Regions from separate parts of the Homo sapiens genome. Here region 2 is linked to region 1. The links are contacts of gene promoters, found by promoter capture Hi-C in blood cells and fetal thymus (Javierre and others, 2016). All regions are on one chromosome and are shown on one strand. The core of a region is centred on a gene start or on the middle of the fragment in contact, and the rest is flanking DNA. Distances in the headings are between cores, read along the strand shown.

Evidence for each region. The method cuts DNA at HindIII sites, captures the fragments that hold promoters and counts their contacts. A CHiCAGO score of 5 or more calls a contact.
Region 2: a contact is called between a fragment that was not itself captured here and the fragment with the promoter of COX6A2 in region 1, in 1 of 17 cell types (erythroblasts). The highest score is 5.0, in erythroblasts.

The regions. Positions count from the first base shown.
Region 1 is chr16:31,424,356-31,429,843 of GRCh38, forward strand. It overlaps COX6A2 (cytochrome c oxidase subunit 6A2), which reads right to left and starts at 4,005. Exons shown (of 3, transcript NM_005205.4): 1 at 3,898-4,005; 2 at 3,660-3,796; 3 at 3,376-3,502. The coding sequence starts at 3,970. The coding sequence ends at 3,419. ITGAD (integrin subunit alpha D) reads left to right here. Exons shown (of 30, transcript NM_005353.3): 29 at 112-222; 30 at 1,660-2,150. The coding sequence ends at 1,773. The HindIII fragment of the contact is 1,386 bases long and covers 3,380-4,765 here.
Region 2 is chr16:31,364,921-31,370,034 of GRCh38, forward strand. All of the region lies in intron 14 of ITGAX (integrin subunit alpha X), which reads left to right. Among named protein-coding and RNA genes, the nearest start is that of ITGAX, 12 kb to the left of the region's middle. RefSeq lists an enhancer at 3,639-4,245. The HindIII fragment of the contact is 286 bases long and covers 1,935-2,220 here.

The DNA.
Region 1 (5,488 bases), core at 2,755-5,254:
CTCACTCCTTGGAGCAGAGCCTCAGAAAGGAGGGGAGAGAGTTAAAGGTTGCGGAACCTGGGAGGCATCTGGGATGGCATGAGGCCGGATGCTCTCTGATCTCTAAATCAGATGGAGATGGTGCTAGAAGAAGACGAGGTCTACAATGCCATTCCCATCATCATGGGCAGCTCTGTGGGGGCTCTGCTACTGCTGGCGCTCATCACAGCCACACTGTACAAGGCAAGTGTTTTATCCAACTCTTTTTTTTTTTTTTTTGAGATGGAGTTTCCACTCTTACTGCCCAGGCTGGAGTGCAATGGCATGATCTTGGCTCACTGCAACCTCCACCTCCCGGGTTCAAGTGATTCTCCTGTCTCAGCCTCCCGAGTAGCTGGGATTACAGGTGGACTGCACCATGCCCGGCTAGTTTTTTGTATTTTTAGTAGAGATGGAGTTTCATCATGTTGGCCAGGCTGGTCTCGAACTCCTGACTTCAGGTGATCCGCCCACCTTGGCCTCCCAAAGTTCTGGGATTACAGGTGTGAGCCACCTCATCCGGCCTTATCCCATTCTTGACACCACCAGCATCCAACCCAAGCCCTCCTACAGACTGGCTGATATAGTGAGAACTCAGACTGTGGAGGCAGACAGGCCTGGACACACATTTTGGCTCTATCATGTACTCACTGTTTAATGTTAGGCAAGTTGCTCCACCTCTCTAAGCCTGTTTCTCTCTTTCTTTTTTTTCTTTTGAGATGGAGTCTCACTCAGTTGCCTAGGCTGGGGTGCAGTGGCACAATCTCAGCTCACTGCAACCTCCACCTCCTAGGTTCAAAAGATTCTCATGCCTCAGCTTCCCAAGTAGCTAGGACTACAGGCACACACCACCACACCTGGCTATTTTTTGTATTTTTAGTAGAGAGAGGTTTCACCATGTTGGTCAGATTGGTCTCAAACTCCTGACCTCATGTGATCCGCCCACCTCGGCCTCCCAAACTGCTGGGTTTACAGGCATGAGCCACTGTGCCCGGCCGTTTCTCATTTTTGAAATGATAATAATGCTTATATCACAGAGTGGCTGAAGTGAGAGAGAAATGAGGCCAGGGCATGTGCACAGATCTGCCTGGATCTATGCTGTCCTGCCACGGGTCGTGTGTGTACCTACTGTGCTCGGGGCCAGCAGATGCTCGATATATGATAGCTGTTCACATAAATGTTCTCGCACACAAACGTAAGTTAGCTTAGTTGTTGCCTCCTCTTCTCTCTCAGCTTCCTCTTATTCCCAATTTTCTTCCCTGCCCTCTTACCCAGCTTTTCTTTCTTTTCTTTCTCTTTTCTTTTTCTTCTTCTTCTTTTTTTTTTTTACATGGAGTCTTGCTGTCTTGCCCAGGCTGGAGTGCAGTGGCATGATCTTGGCTCACGGCAACCTCTGCCTCCCGGGTTCAAGCGATTCTCTTGCCTCAGCCTCCTGAGTAGCTGGGATTACAGGCGCACCACCACACCCAGCTAATTTTTGTATTTTTAGTAGAGACGGGGTTTCACCATGTTGGCCAGGCTGGTCTCCAGCTCCTGACCTCAGGTGATCCACCCTCCTCAGCTTCCCACAGTGCTGAGATTACAGGTGTGAGCCACCGGGCCCGGACTTACCCAGCTTTTCTAATTTATTTCCCCTGATAGCTTGGCTTCTTCAAACGCCACTACAAGGAAATGCTGGAGGACAAGCCTGAAGACACTGCCACATTCAGTGGGGACGATTTCAGCTGTGTGGCCCCAAATGTGCCTTTGTCCTAATAATCCACTTTCCTGTTTATCTCTACCACTGTGGGCTGGACTTGCTTGCAACCATAAATCAACTTACATGGAAACAACTTCTGCATAGATCTGCACTGGCCTAAGCAACCTACCAGGTGCTAAGCACCTTCTCGGAGAGATAGAGATTGTAATGTTTTTACATATCTGTCCATCTTTTTCAGCAATGACCCACTTTTTACAGAAGCAGGCATGGTGCCAGCATAAATTTTCATATGCTTAAGAATTGTCACATGAAATGAGGATGTTTATAGCACACTTTCCTTGCGTGGAAGAGCTATAACCCAGGGACCTGAGTGCCTCTCTGGGAATAGTCGGGGGAACCTATTTGTGGGCATTGAAAAAGTTTTTTCACTTTCTATGGTGATGGGAGCCTGAGGTCATCTTTTCTTGATGGGGCTGAGAGGTGTGTATCAGGGGAGAGGGTCAAAGAGTGTGTGTGTGTGTGTGTGTGTGTGTGTGTGTGCATGTGCATGCACGTGCACGCAGGCATGCATTGGTCATGGGTTTCTTCACACACTTCAGGTTCCTCTGTAATGGTAAGTGGGCAGGCTGTCCTAGGAGGTGAAGAAATGTCCAGAGCTCATTTGAACTCCTGTCCCCCTTGAATGAGGTACTCAGAAGCCAGGAGAGCCAGGCTAGGAGCATGTGATTTCCCATATAGAAGACTCATTAAGAAAGATTATAGGCCGGGCGCGGTGGCTCACGCCTGTAATCCCAGCACTTTGGGAGGCCGAGGCGGGTGGATCATGAGGTCAGGAGATCGAGACCATCCTGGCTAACAAGGTGAAACCCCGTCTCTACTAAAAATACAAAAAATTAGCCGGGCGCGGTGGCGGGCGCCTGTAGTCCCAGCTACTCAGGAGGCTGAGGCAGGAGAATGGCGTGAACCCGGGAAGCGGAGCTTGCAGTGAGCCGAGATTGCACCACTGCAGTCCGCAGTCCGGCCTGGGCGACAGAGCGAGACTCCGTCTCAAAAAAAAAAAAAAAAAAAGAAAGAAAGATTATAGAGAATTATCAAAAGATTCCAAATCCAGCATTAGGTCCCAAGGCCTCACACACAGGACTGTGGAGCCTCCGTCTGAAATCCAGAGAGCTGGGATTCACAGACACCAGCAGCTCAGGTGTCAGGCAAGAAGTGGGACTTCAGGATCTGCAGCCCTGGGCTCCCATGGGGGCTCTGCCGAGCTGCCGGAACTTGGACAAGTCATTTAATTCCCAAGAATCTCAGGTCTTCCTCGGGAGAAGGTGAACTAAATTTATACCCTGCTCCCAGCGTTACTGTGAGGATTCGGTGTACGCGGAAGCCCATTACAGCCTAGAGCCCTAATTATTAATAGGTGTGTGTGAGAGGGAGGCCTCATTATTACCAGGTGAGAGACAGGGAGCTGGGATCGCCTACCTGTGAGTGGAGGAGGCTCCCTCGAGCACCTCCGTATCAGCGGCGTGGGAAAAGCACGTGGAGCGCCCACCGCGCTAGGCGCATGCGCGGAGCAGGAGCGCTTACCAAGCTGGGCGCATGCGCGGAGCGGGCGCCTCTGGGCGCGCTCCCCGTGGCCCCGCCCTCCCCACAGAGCCGCAGACTCGAAGCTTCACACCTTTATTGTGTCCGGGGGCGTCCGGGGCCTCAGGGGTGTTCGTAGCCCGTGGGCAGAGGGTTCACGTGGCTATTGTGGAACAGAGTGTGGTTGCCGTCCCCCCAGGGGTAGGGCTGTGGAGAGAGCGGGGGAGGGAGCGCGCGTGAGCGCCGTGAGTCCGGAGTCCGCGCCCCGCGCGACCCCCCCCCCGCAGCACCCCCCCCCGCCCCCGCAGCACCCCCCCCCGCCCCCGCAGCACCCCCGTGCCGCCCGCGCGCCCGTCCCGCGTACCTTGGTGCGGATGCGGAGGTGTTGGTAGGGACGGAACTCGGGGCGCGGGCGGTGGCCCGAGTGGAGATAGGAGTTGAAGGTGCAGAGGGCCACGCTGGGCAGCGCCAGCACGAAGGTCAGCAGACGCCAGGTACGAGCTGCGGACGGAGCGGGGTGAGCGCGGCGGTCCTGGGGCGGCGGGCCTGTGAACAGGTGGGCAGGGTAGGGGAGCCCCCGGATCCGCCCGTTCCCCACTCACCTCCTGCTCCTCCGTGGCCTCCTTTGGCAGCGCTGGCCAAGCCCCGGGTCAGGGGCCTCAGAGGCAAAGCCATGATGGTGCGGGGAGCCGGGAACCAGCGCTGTCCTCGCTCCCTTTCCTGGGGCCTGGGGTCACCTCCCCTCTCTGGGCCAATCACCTGTTGAGTCTGGAGCACTGGCGGCTATTCTTAGGGGTTTCTATATTTAAAATGGGGCCTGACTGGCTTGAGGTCATCTCCAGACAGCTGTTGTCCTGTGCCTCTTATTTTGGCAAGGAGGCATTTAAGTACAATATGCCATTCTTTTTATATAGTTGCAGGGAAACTATTTTGTTCCCTATTCTATGCCTGGTGGCTGGCACACAGTTGGGCTTTAATAAATATTTGTAGAATGAATTAAGTGTCTTTTTGAGTCTCAGTGTTTTCAGCTGTAAAATGTATAATAATTCGTACCTTAAAAGATTTTTTAAATACTGGAGACGGGGATCTCACTATATTGTCCAGGCTGGTGTGGAACTCTTGAGCTCACGTGATCCTCCCGCCTCAGCCTCCCACAGTGCTGGGATTACAGGCATGAGCCACTACACGGCCCTTACATCATTTTTATGAAGTTTATGTAAGGTAGGAATGTGTCAACCTGGATTTTGGCAGGTAACAGTAGTTCAGTATATGTATTAGTCACAGTTCTTTGCAAAGAACAGAACTCACTCTTACTAGTTTTAGAAGATAAGTAATTGAGAATCTTAGGTAGCTTACTATGTCTGATATAGCCAGAGATGCCTACAGTCTGCACAGTCATAAACAAGTCATTCCGTTGGCCAGCTGCAGTGACACCCCCACAGCTCACACTGCTGGACCCTGGATGCCAAAAGCTTCATTAAGGCTGCCCTGGAAAACCAGAATTTTCCACCCTCATCCCCTCTTGAAAACAGATTCTTCATGAAACCTGTATCCTGGGTCGCTCTTTTCTGAAAGAATTATGTGATTGCACCAACTGGCAACCCCTAGGTCCCCCAGCTGCAGGAGGGGATGGGAAACTGAGCTCTGGATTCTGCCTTAGGGAGGCAGGAATTGTAGGGAAAATCTCCAGGTCTAGGATGAGTATTCAAAAGGTTCCAGGCAGCCACAAGCCTGACAGGTGTCTACTGCAAAGTGCATTATTTCAATCTGAAAAATATGACTACTTGGAGAAAGCAAGCCTAGACAGGGCTGGTGTGAACCCTCTATCAAAGCAGGTCACAAGAAAGCCACAAGACCAGGCAGGGATGACATCTGCCTGTTCTGTCCTCAGCAACGGGCAGGGACCTTGGCATGAAGGAGGTGTTCTAAAAATATGTATGTAATGAATGCTTGAACCTTGTTACTTTGGTTAACCCTACAACAATGCCTTTTCAGAATTACAATCCAATAGGAAGCTTCTAGCTTTGATCAAGGGCTGATGTACTAATATGAACTTAATATACAAAAGAAGAATGAATTATATAGACATATAATCTGAATTTAATATATAAAAAAAACGAGGAAGATATATTTTCAAGAAGGGGCTCTATACCTGTTTCTCATTGGTAATAAACTGAACAGTATGTTCCATCC
Region 2 (5,114 bases), core at 828-3,327, 61 kb before region 1:
AGGCAGGAGAATCTATTGAACCTGGGAGGTGGGGGTTGTGGTGAGCCGAGATCGCGGCACTGCACTCCAGCCTAGGCAACAAGAGCAAAACTCCGTCTCGAACAAACAAACAAACAAAAAGTTAAACATAGAGTTGCCATGTGATCTGGCAATTCCACCTATAAAACATGCTAAGTGAGGGAAGCCAAACACAGAAGGCCACATGTATTCAGGCCAAATGTCCAGAACAGACAGATCTGTAGAGACAGAAAGTAGATGAGCAGTTTCACAGGGCTGGGTGTGGGGGAAAGTCAGGGGCATGAGGGTGACTGCTAATGGGTGTGGAGTCTCTTTTTGGGGTAGTGGAAATGTTCTAAAATTGATTGTGGTAGTGGTTTCACAACTCTCTAAACATACCAAAAGGCACTAAGTCATATACTTTAAAGGGGTGAGTTGTGTGCTATGTGGTCTATAGCTCAAAAAAGCTGTTACCAAAAAGAAAAAAGTGCCAAGGAAGGTCCCTGCAGTTCTGTCACACACCAGCTGTGTGATCTTTGACAGGTAACTCACCCTCTCTGTGCTCAGTTTTCTCACTGGTAAAATGGTGATACTAATAGAACCAACCTTATTGAGCTGCTGCTGTGAGGATTAAATGAGTTAGTATGCATGAAGTGCCTGGCACACAATAGGTATCATGTTGTTATAATCTGTTTTAATTATCATTAAGATAGTTTAACAACTGGCCAGGCGCGGTGGCTCCCGCCTGTAATCCCAGCACTTTGGGAGGCTGAGGCAGGCAGATCACTTGAGGTCAGGAGTTCCAGACTAGGCTGGCCAACATGGGGAAACCCCGTCTCTACCCAAAATACAAAAATTAGTTGTGCGTAATGGCGCATGCCTATAATCCCAGCTACTTGGGAGGCTGAGGCAGGAAAATGGCTTGAACCCAGGAATCGGAGGTTGCAGTGAGCTGAGATTGCGCCACTGCACTCCAGCCTGGGTGATAGAGTGAGACTCCATCTCTAAACAAACAAACAAACAAAAAACACATAGTTTAACACCTGAAGGGGAATCTAAAGAAGAGGGTGAAAGACTGTTGAGAATAACAAGGGCCCACGTGTTGTCATGAAACTGCAAACAGTTCGTACCAATTCCCACAACCCATCACATGCAGGCATACCTTGTTTTATGCGCTTTGCAGATACTGCATTTTTTACACGCTGAAGGTATGCAGCGACCCTGCACTGAGCAAGTCTATCAGTGCTGTTTTCCCAGCTGCATGCACTCACTTTGTGTCTCCGTGTTACTTTGGTAATTCTCACAATGTTTCAAACTTTTTTGTAATTATCATGTCTGTGATGGTGATCTGTGATCAGTGATCTTCGATGTTGCTATTGTCCTCTTTTTGGGGCACCATGAAGCACGTCCGTATATGAAGGCGAACTTCATAAATGTGTGTGTTCTGACTGCTCCACCACTGATAGCTCCCCTGTCTCTCTCTCCCTCTCCTGTGGCCTCCCTATTCCCTGCAATGCAATGATATTGAAATTAAGCCAAATAATAACTCTACAATGGTCTTTAAGTGTTCAACTGAAAGGAAGAGTCACATGTCTCTCACTATTTATTTATTTATTGAGGCAGGATCTCACTCTGTCACCCAGCCTGGAGTACACTGGTGTGATCTTGGCTCACTGAAACTTCCCCCTCTGGGGTTCAAGTGATTCTCCTGCCTCAGCCTTCTGAGTAGCTGGCATTACAGGTGGGTGCCACCATGCCTGGCTAATTTTTGTGTTTTTAGTAGAGATGGGGTTTCACCATGTTGGCCAGGCTAGTCTGGAATTCCTGACTCTAAGTGATCTGCCTGCCTTGGCCTCCCAAAGCACTGGGATTACAGACGTGGGCCACCACGTCTGGCCACATATCTCTCACTTTAGATCAAAACCTAGAAATGATTAAGCTTGGTGAAGAAGCCATGCCAAAAGCCAAGATGGGCTGAAGGCCTTTTGCACCAAACAGCCAAATTCTGAATGCAAAGAAAAAGTTATTGAAGGAAATTAAGAGTGTTACTCCAGTGAACATATGAATGATAAGAAAGTGAAACAGCCTAATTGCTGATATGAAGGAAGTCTGAGTGATCTGGATAGAAGATCAAACCAGCCACAACATCCCCTTAAGCCAAAGCCAAATCCAGAGCAAGGTCCGAATGCTCTTCAGTTCTATGAAGGCTGAGAGACGTGAGGAAGCTTCAGAAGAAAAATTGGAAGTCAGCAGAGGTGGAAGTCAGCAGGGTTCATGAGGTTTAAGGAAAGAAGCAATCTCCACAACATAAAAGTACAAGGTGAAGCAGCAAGTACAGATGGAGAAGGCGCAGCAAGTTCTCCAGAAGATCTCTGATGAAGGTGGCTACACTCAACAACAGGTTTTCAGTGTAGATGAGATGGCCTTCGATGGAAGAAGATGGCATCTAGGACTTTCAGAGAAGTCAATGCCTGGCTTCAAAGCTTCAAAGGACAAGTTGACTCTCTTGTTAGAGGCTAATGCAGCTGGTAGGACTTCAAGTTGTAGCCAGTGGTCATTTACCATTTGGAAAATTCCAGGGCCCTGAAGAATGATGCTAAATCCACCCTTCTTGTGCTCTAGAAATGGAACAAAGCTGGGGTGACAGCACATCTGTTTATAGCATGCTTGACTGAGTGTTTTAAGCCCATTCTGGAGACCTGCTGCTCAGAAAAATAGATTTCTTTCCAAAGTTTGCTGCTTATTGACAGTGCACCTGATCACCCAAGAGCTCTGATGGAGATGTTCAAGGAGATTAGTGTTGTTTCCATGCCTGCAAACACAACACCCATTCTGCAGTCCATGGACCAAGGAGTAATTTCGACTTTCAAGTCTCATTATTTCAGAAATACATTTCATAAGGCTATAGCTGCCATAGATAGTGATTCTTCTGATGGATCTGGGCAAAGTCAATTGAAAACCTTCTGGAAAAAAATTCACCATTTTAGATGCCATTAAGAACATTCATGATTCATCAGAGGGGGTCAAAATATCAACATTAACACGAGTTCGGGAGAAGCTGATTCTGATTCTCATGGATGACTTTGAGTGGCTCAAGGCTTCAGGGGAGGAAGTGATTGCGGATGTGTGGAAATAGAGAACCAGAATTAGAAGTGGAGCCTGAATTGCTGCAGTCTCATGATGAAACTTGCACAGATGAGGACCTGCTTCTTACAGATGAGGAAAGAAAGTGTTTTTTTTTTTTTTCAGATGGAATCTATTCCTGGTGAAGATGATATAAATATTGTTGAAATGACAACACAAGATTAAGAATATTACATAATCCCAGCACTTAGGGAGGCTGAGGTGGGCAGACCACCTGAGGTCAGGAGTTCAAGACCAGCCTGGCCTACATAGGGAAACCTCTCTACTAAACATCTCTACTAAAAAAATTAGCTGGGTGTGGTGGCAGATGTCTGTAATCCCAGCTACTCAGGAGGCTGAGGCAGGAGAATCGCTTGAACCCCTCAGGCAAAGGTTGCAGTGAGCCGAGATCACACCACTGCACTCTAGCCTGGGCGACAGAGTGAAAGTGTGTCTCAAAAAAAAAAAAAAAAAGAATATTATATAAACGTAGTTGATAAATCAGCATAGAATTTGAGAGAATTGACTCCAACTTTCTTTTTTTATTTTTTATTTTTTATTTATTTTTTTATTTTTTATTTTTTTTATTGATCATTCTTGGGTGTTTCTCGCAGAGGGGGATTTCGCAGGGTCATAGGACAATAGTGGAGGGAAGGTCAGCAGATAAACAAGTGAACAAAGGTCTCTGGTTTTCCCAGGCAGAGGACCCTGCGGCCTTCCGCAGTGTTTGTGTCCCTGGGTACTTGAGATTAGGGAGTGGTGATGACTCTTAACGAGCATGCTGCCTTCAAGCATCTGTTTAACAAAGCACATCTTGCACCGCCCTTAATCCATTTAACCCTGAGTGGACACAGCACATGTTTCAGAGAGCACAGGGTTGGGGGTAAGGTCACAGATCAAGAGGATCCCAAGGCAGAAGAATTTTTCTTAGTACAGAACAAAATGAAAAATCTCCCATGTCTACTTCTTTCTACACAGACACGGCAACCATCCGATTTCTCAATCTTTTCCCCACCTTTCCCCCCTTTCGATTCCACAAAACCGCCATTGTCATCATGGCCCGTTCTCAATGAGCTGTTGGGTACACCTCCCAGACGGGGTGGTGGCCGGGCAGAGGGGCTCCTCACTTCCCAGTAGGGGCGGCCGGGCAGAGGTGCCCCTCACCTCCCGGACGGGGCGGCTGGCCGGGCGGGGGGCTGACCCCCCCACCTCCCTCCTGGACGAGGCAGCTGGCCGGGCGGGGGGCTGACCCCCCCCCCCACCTCCCTCCCGGACGGGGCAGCTGGCCGGGCAGAGGGTCTCCTCACTTCCCAGTAGGGGCGGCCGGGCAGAGGCGCCCCTCACCTCCCGGACGACTCCAACTTTCAAAGAAGCTCTACTGTGGCCAAATGTTATCAACCAGCATCGCATGCTCCAGAGAAATTTCATGAAAGGAAGAGTCCATCCAGGCAGCAAACTTCCTCACGGTCTTATTTTAGGAAATTGCCATAGCCACCCCAACCTCCAGCAGTTGCCACTGTGATCAGTCAGCCGTGTCACCATCAGGCAAGACCCTCCACCAGCAAAAAGATTATGCCTTGCTAAAGGCTTAAACGATTGTTAGCATTTTTTACCAATCAAATATTTTATTTTTATTTTTGAACTTTTAGATTTAGAGGGGGTACACCTAGCCTTTCTAGACTCCCTCAGTAATTGGTAAATTTCTCTTTTTATTTTGTTATTATTCCTTTTTTTCTTTTCTTTTTTTTAATTTTTATTTTTTAGAGACAGAATCTCATCATGTCACTCAGGCTGGAGTTCAGTGGCGCAATCATAGCTGACTGCAGCCTCGAACTCCTGGACTGAAGAGATCCTCCTGCCAAAGACTCCTGAGTAGCTGGGACCACAGGCACAAAGCCAGTGTGCCCTGCCCATTATTATTACCTTTTTTTTTGAGACAGAGTCTCGCTCTGTCACCCAGACTGGAGCACAGTGGTGCAATCTCCGCTCACTGC